2 separate regions of the Homo sapiens genome follow, and region 2 is linked to region 1. Evidence: promoter capture Hi-C in human tissues and cell types (Jung and others, 2019). All regions are on one chromosome and are shown on one strand. Each heading gives the region's core, a stretch centred on a gene start or on the middle of the fragment in contact. The rest is flanking DNA. Distances are from core to core; before and after follow the strand shown. Region 1 holds the start of APOBEC3B (apolipoprotein B mRNA editing enzyme catalytic subunit 3B). Region 2 overlaps ENTHD1 (ENTH domain containing 1).

The links. Contacts are between HindIII fragments. The study calls those that stand out against the background at their distance.
Region 2: a fragment that was not itself captured here is called in contact with the fragment with the promoter of APOBEC3B in region 1 in 1 of the 25 tissues and cell types used here (dorsolateral prefrontal cortex).

Annotation. Positions count from the first base shown.
Region 1 is chr22:38,981,028-38,984,914 of GRCh38, forward strand. APOBEC3B (apolipoprotein B mRNA editing enzyme catalytic subunit 3B) reads left to right here and starts at 1,320. Exons shown (of 8, transcript NM_004900.5): 1 at 1,320-1,443; 2 at 3,048-3,204. The coding sequence starts at 1,427. RefSeq lists a silencer at 1,454-1,503 and an enhancer at 3,702-3,887. The HindIII fragment of the contact is 18,696 bases long and covers 1-3,887 here.
Region 2 is chr22:39,857,508-39,861,394 of GRCh38, forward strand. The region is part of intron 3 of ENTHD1 (ENTH domain containing 1); the gene reads right to left. Among named protein-coding and RNA genes, the nearest start is that of ENTHD1, 34 kb to the right of the region's middle. The HindIII fragment of the contact is 4,117 bases long and covers 1-3,706 here.

The sequences.
Region 1 (3,887 bases), core at 70-2,569:
TTCTGATAAACGGAACTGTTTATTTTCCACCGATGGTCTTATCCTTTGTCCATCTCTTTCTGACGGCAACAGAAAACTTCACCTTCCAGAGGAGCGCCTCTGCCTGGCTGTCCCACCGTCTGGGAAGTAAGGAGCGCCTCTGCCCAGCCCCCGCACCGTCTGGGAAGTGAGGAGCGCCTCTGGACGGCCCCCGCACCGTCTGGGAAGTGAGGAGCGCTTCTGGACGGCTCCCAGCAACCCCCCAGGTGTGAAGTGACAGCCCTGTGTGTGATCTTTCTGCCCTCCCCAAGTTTGCATTTTCGACAATAAAATTTACTTTTAAATTAAAAGATTTATACTGGGGAAGATTTAAAAAAAAAAAAAGAAAGAAAAGAAAACTCACCTTCCAAAAACAACCACTGGGAGTCCGCTTTGTGCAGAGGTTGGACAAGCTTCTGTGCAGGTAGGGGCGCTGCTGCTCCCCCTACCACCCACGCATCCTCCTCCCTGTCTGCATTCCCGTCGTCGTAGCCAGAGGAGTTCAGAGCCTCTACAGAGAGCACAACTTCTCCAGCTGGAACAAACTCCCCTTAAAGGAATCTATTTAGGAAGATTATTTCAATGTACATTCATTCCTCCAAAATATGCTTAGATGGACTTAAATAATCAGAAAGCTGTGTGTGTATGTGTTTCCCGTTTTCTTGGCCCACAAAGAACCCCTTGAGAGGTCCCTGGGCAGTGAGCCTGTTTATAGACACCCTTCTCCCTTCCTTGGTGTCGCAGACATCGCAGTCCCTCTGAGGGGCTGACCTGCCCCCCACCTTCTGGAAGCTGGGAGGTTGGAAGAGGGGACGCATGCCATGGACCCAGCACACAGCTGGGAACTCGAGGCACACCTAAGCCTTCCCTTGTGCTGTGCGGAGTCCACACTTCCTTCCCCACTGGAGTCTCAAAACCTCCCCTCACTCAACAGGGTGGTGCTGCTCAAAGCTCTGGGCACACATTAGGGCTGGGGAGGGGGTGGTGGAGAGGGGGCTCCAGCCTGCCCAACCACCAGGCAACGGGGCACCTGCCCCTCTCTCAGCTGGGTCTGGACCCGCCTCCCAGGCTCAGGCTGCAATGCCTTTCTCTTTCTCTTTGCAATTCCGTTGGGTCCTGCCCAGGACAGATAAAGACAGAGCAGCCTGTCTTTATTGGAGGTTCCTCTGCCAGCGGGAAGGGTCCGGGGAAAACCAGAGCCAGAGCCAGAGCCAGAGAAACATGAAGCACCCCGGGGCCTCCCACACCAATGCCTGAGCAGGAATGGGGAGGGGCCATGACTCATAAGGCCCTGGGAGGTCACTTTAAGGAGGGCTGTCCAACTGCAAGGACGCTGTAAGCAGGAAGTGAAACCACAGAGCTTCAAAAAAAGAGCGGGACAGGGACAAGCGTATCTAAGAGGCTGAACATGAATCCACAGATCAGGTACCGCTGCCCACTCTGCCTGCTGGGCCCCTCCTGCCCCTTCCTGCCTGGTGGTCCTGCTGGGCCTCAACCCTGGCCTCCCCCCGCCCCTGCCCCAGCCCTGGGCTCCCTCCCCTCTGGCTCCCCTGCCACACGAATCCCAGTCAGGCTCTTTGTCCTGCTGTGTGGTCACCCCACTGCTGCTTCTGAATGGGCTGCCTCCCCTACCTGCACCAGCCCAGGCCCCGTGCTGAGACTCTCCCTTAAAGTCATGCCCGGACTGGTGCTCCCCGCCCTGGGAGGGTGCTCCCTCTGTGTGCTTCCTGCCACTCCTGAGCTCAGAAACTGGGAGAATTGAACCAAAGGGTAATTGGAGCAATCAGGCATTTTTGTTCTCAGTGTTTTGATGAAATTTCTGTAAGAATTACTTTGCTTAAATACAAAGTCTTAGGAGAGGGTGCGGGGGTAGGAATGGTCTCTGAAGCACATGATAAATCGTGTCATCCAAGGATGACTCCATGGTGAGCAGATGTCCCCAGACAGGTTCCACTCCAAGGTCACTCTTCATCTTTTAGAACATGACCAGTGGTTGAGCGTGGTGGCTCACACTTGTAATCCCAACACTTTGGGAGGCCAAGGCGGGCGGATCATGAGGTCGGGAGTTTGAGACCAACCTGGCCCATATGGTGAAACCCCGTCTCTACTAAAAAACATACAAAAATTAGCCAGGCATGGTGGCGCATCTCTAGTCCCAGATACTCAGGAGGTTTAGGCAGGAGAATTGCTTGAACCTGGGAGGTGGAGGTTGCAGTGAGCTGAGATCATGCCACTGCACTCCAGCCTGGGCGACAGAGTGAGACTTCATCAAAAAAAAAAAGAAAGAACATGATCAGTAACATGGAATGTGAGAATGTGGGAAAAAAGTGCAATGATGAGGAGAAATGCTCTGATTTTAAAATTTAGTGAAAAGAGAGCCCAGTCCCCAACAGCTTTCTCCTACAGGATCCGTGATGCAGAGGCTGGACAGGGCTGGCCTGGAAAGGGGCCCCTGCTCCATCCGTCCCCAGCTCTGTGGCCTCGGCAGGTTACCCCGCCTCTCTGTGCCTCTGGCATCTCCTCTGTAAGATGGGAATGGCCCCTGCAGGCCTAGGGTAGCCTCACGTGAGCTCACACCCGCTCAGCACTTAGAAGAGTGGCCTGGGCCTCAGAATTCAGTTCTACCATGATTTTAAAATAATGTTAACACGCAGAGTGAAACATCAGGAAGGAATTGAGCTGAAAGGTTAAAAGCTATTTTTTAGGGGTGAAGGGTTTTATTCTCTTTTGCATTCTCCTAATGGGTTGGGGAGTGGGTTGGCAGAAATACTAGGAGGGTGGGGAATGTACCCCTGGAAAGGCCAGAGTTGGACCCGAGCTGGGAGAGATCACCCCAGCCCGCCTGCCAGCATCCCCTCCTCTTCCTCTCCCCTCAGTCTTCCTGCCTGGGAAGGCAGCAGAAATTCTCAGGGCTGTGGAGGGGTCGGGGAGGCCCAGGGCCATCCTGGGAGCTGTGTTCAGTGGACATGAGCCCCGAGGACTCCCGGGAGGGCTCCCTGCATGGGCCGGTTTCTCTCTTGTGCCTTCAGAAATCCGATGGAGCGGATGTATCGAGACACATTCTACGACAACTTTGAAAACGAACCCATCCTCTATGGTCGGAGCTACACTTGGCTGTGCTATGAAGTGAAAATAAAGAGGGGCCGCTCAAATCTCCTTTGGGACACAGGGGTCTTTCGAGGCCAGGTACCACCCAAACTTCAATCGAATCACAGGCAGTGTTGCAGGAATTAGAGGACTGGAGAGACTGATATGGGTGAGACAGGAGGATTTATTTAGGTGCACTGGTTCAGCAGACTCACATCCAAAAAGGCTGAGCCCTTAACAAAGACAGACTGAGGTATTTATAAGCAAACTTACAGAAGCAGAACAAAGGCGATTAATCAAACAGTGACAGGTCACATAATCTATAGCATAACAGATGACTTAGCATAACTTGGGGCCTTCTATAGCTGGTGGCCTTGCAGCTACATCAAAAGGAAAACAGGAACTGGCTAAATACAGACATTTGTAAAATATAGTTATAATGGTTCTGGAAAGGAGAGACAGTAAAGGAATTTGTCTTTTTTTTAAAAAATTTTTTTAAAATTTTCTTCAACCTTGCCCTGGAGGGGTGTGGGGGTGGTGTCTGGAGCCCATTCCTTTGGCCTTGACTTTTCAGGCAGTGTTATAACTGTCGTTGGAGTGAGCTGGCTAGGCAGAGGAAAACTTGTTCTTCTTTTCTTTTTAACCCTTGCTACAGTAGGACCTAAGCAGCTGGAAATGCAGAAAACACAACAATAAGTAAAATGCCCAGCACTGGGCTCTCAATTGTGTATTTTTCCCACATTTCTTTTTTCTCTTTTTTTCCTTTTTTTTTTTTTTTTTTT
Region 2 (3,887 bases), core at 398-2,897, 880 kb after region 1:
TTGCATGAATCATAAAATCAGAGTTGGGTTACTTCTGTATCAATTTAGGGATTCATTTCTTAAGCTTACGATTCACCAGGCCAAGTTTGCTCCAGTTTCAGAGCATCTACCCTGCTGTTCCCTCTGCCTGATATACAGGCACACCTTGAAGATACTGCGGTGGGCTGGGTTCCAGATTACTGCAATAAAGCAAATATTCCAATAAAGCCACTCACACAAACATTTTTGTTTCCCAGTGCATATAAAAGTTATGTTTACATTAGACTGCAGTCTACTTAGTAGACTAAGTATGCAATACCATGCTGCCTAAAAAATATATATACATAATTAAATAATACTTTATTGCTAATTTAAAAAGGCTAACAATCATCTGAGCCTTCAGCGAGTCTTCATCTTTTTGCTGGTGGAGGGTCTTGTCTCCATGTTGAGGGCTGCTGATAGATCAGGGTGGTTGCTGCTGAAGGTTGGGAAAGCTGTGGCAATTTTTTAAAGTAAGACAACAATAAAGCCTGCAACATCAACTGACTCTTCCTTTCACAAAAGATTTATCTGTAGCATGTGATGCTGTTTGATAGCATTTTACCCACAGTAGAACTTCTTTCAAAATTGGAGTCAATCCTCTCTAATCCTGCCACTGGTTTATTTACTAAGTTTATGTAATATTCTGAATTCTTTGTTGGCATTGCAACAATGTTCACAGCTTCTTCACAGGAGTAGATTTCAACTCAAGAAACCATTTTCTTTGCTCATCCATAAGAAGTATCTCCTCATCTGTTCAAGTTTGATCATGAGATTGCAGCAATCCAGTCACATCTTCAGGCTCCACTTCTAATTCTAGTTCTCTTGCTATTTCCGCCACATCTGCAGTTCCTTCCTCCACTGAAGTCTTGAACCCCTCAAAGTCATCCATAAGGGTTGGAATCCACTTCTTTCAAACTCCTGTTAATGTTGAAATTTTGGCTTCCTCCCATGAATCACAAATGTTCTTAATGGCATCTAGAGTGGTGAATCTTTTCCAGAAGGTTTTTAATTTACTTTGCTCAGATCCATCAGAGGAATCACTATCTATGGAAGATATAGCTTTATGAAATGTATTTCTTCAGTAATAAGACTTGAAAGTTGAAATCACTCCTTGATCCATGGGCTGAAGAATAAACACTGTGTTTTAGCAGGCACGAAAACAATATTAATCTCCTTGTACATCTCCATCAGAGCTCTTGGGTGACCAGGTGCACTGTCAATGAGCAGTAATATTTTTAAAGAAATCTTAAGGGCACTAGGATTTTGGGAATGGTAAAGGAGCAGTTGGCTTCAACTTAAAGTCACCAGTTGCATTAGTCCCTAACAAGAGAGTCAGCCTGTCCTTTGAAGCTTTGAAGCCAGGCATTGACTTCTCCTCTCTAGCTATGAGAGTCCTAGATGGCATCTTTTTCCAACAAAAGGCTATTTCACCCACATTGAAAATCTATTTAGTGTAGCCCCCTTCATCAATTACCTTAGCTAGATCTTCTGGATAACTTGCTACAGCTTCTCCATCAGTACTTGCTGCTTCACTTTGTACTTGTGTGTTATGGTGACAGTTGCTTTCCTTGAACCTCATGAACCCACCTCTGCTAGCTTCAAGATTTTCTTCTGCAGTTTCCTCTTCTCTCTCAGTCTTTGCAGAATTAAAGACAGTTAGAACCTTGCTCTGGATTAGGCTTTGGCTTAAGTGATAATGGGGCTAGTTGGATCTTCTATCCAGACCATGCAACCTTTCTCTATAACAGCAATAAAGCTGTTTCCCATTCTTATCATTCCCGTATTCATTGGAGCAGCACTTCTAATTTCCTTCCAGAACTTTTCCTTTACATTCATAACTTAGCTAACTGTTTGGCACAAGAGGCCTACCTTTCAGCCTGTTTCGGCTTTCAACATGCCTTTCTCACTAAGTTTAACCATTTCTAGCTTTTGAATTAAAGTGAGAAACCTGCGACTCTTCCTTACACTTGAACACTTAGAGGCCATTGTAGGGTTATTAATTGGCTTAATTTCAATATTGTTGACCCTCAGGGACTAGGGAGACCCAAGGAGAGAGAGAGAGATCGGGATCAGTGAAGCAGTCAGAACACACATGACATCTATCAGTAAGTTCACTGGTCTTCTACAGCCATGGTTTGTGGTACCCCAAAACAATTACAACAGTAACATCTAAGATCACTGATCATAGATCACCATGACACATATAATAATAAGGAAAAAGTTAAAAATATTGCAAGAACTACCAAAATGTGACACAGACACAAAGTATGCACATGCTATCAGAAAAATGGTGCCAATAAACTTCTTGGGTACAGGATTGCCACAAACCTTCAATTTGTAAAATATACGTTATCTGTGAAGTGTAATTAAGCAAAGTGCAATCGATCGAGGTATGCCTGTATGTGGGTTGCTCCCTCACTTCATTCAGGTCTGTTTGAAGATTCACTTCCTCCAAAAGGCCCTCTCTCATTACGTGACCTAAAATAAACCCACCCCTGTCACTCTGTTCCCTGACCCTGCTTTCCTTTTCTTTACAGGACTTGTTATTATCTGACATATTTTATGCTTGTGACAGAGACATCCCAGTCTCTACCACTAGAATGTTAGTTCCATGATAAAAGAAAACTTATTTTACTCACTCCTATAGTTCCAAATTTCTGCTGAATATCCAAATTTTAAATAAATTCAATAATTATGTGTTTACAATGAAAGAAGAAAGAACTGACAAAAGAAAGGAAGAAGGAAGAGTAAGAAAGGTAACATCGAAGAAGCAAAAGTGGGGAAGAAACTCTGGATGAGTCATAATTGGTTATTCTTCTCTGTTACTCTGTTTTTAGCATCAGTTTGATTTAAAGGCTCCCATGAGAAAATTTCAGAATGAGTGGCTGTCTCTTTCGGAGATTTATTTCAAAAGAATCAGATCCCCTAAAGATCCCACCACTTTTAGAAGCCGGTAGGTAGTATTTGCTACTATAATTACAATGGCTACCCTCTTATAATGTCTCTCTCCAATCCCAAGTGTGGATGTTCACTCTATGTCTCACTGGGTGAACGTTTGAAACTCTTGATTAAGACAGAAAAGTACCTGAATGATTTTTAGCAAGCTTAACTTGTGTTGGTATTACTAGTAACATTGTTACATTTTTGCACTTAACTGACAGTTGGAATTATCTATTTGTACTGAATACAAAGGGACAGTTCTCTAAGTCACATTTCACTAATGTTTTTGCTTCCTCAAGCTGTCCATTTCTCATACACAACTTATCAACAGGGTTTCTACTGGAGAAGTTAGAGCAAAATGACATTTTTTAAAGTTTTAGCAAATTTGGTAGAAAAGATGATAGCATTTTTCTACTCATGTCTATTATAACATTATAAATAAATCCCTCTGTTATAAAAGTTCAGTAGTCCATATTTAAAGTTTTAAGCAAAGGAAAGGGTAAAAGGTATTGTCCTAGAATAATTTTAGAGCACTTTTAGGATTCTGAAGCATACTTTAGAAAATTTCAATTACTTGATTTATGTTACAGGATCAAAGAGACCTCATACGCACATAACTAGACACCTAGTCTTAGAAAACTGTACTCCTTCACTTTCCAGTTAAGGATAAAAAACTTAAAATTGAATCACGATGCCAAATAGGGTAGTCACTAGTTTAATACCTTAAAAGCTCAAAAACATTTTATTTGAATCAAAGATAACTGCATTCAGAAAACAGTCATAAAACTGGGCTGGGCACAGTGGCTCACGCCTATAATCCCAGCACTTTCGGAGGCCAAGGCAGGAGGATCACTTGAGGTCATGAGTTCGAGACCAGCCTGGGCAACATGCTGAAACCCTGTCTCTACTAAAAATACAAAAATTAG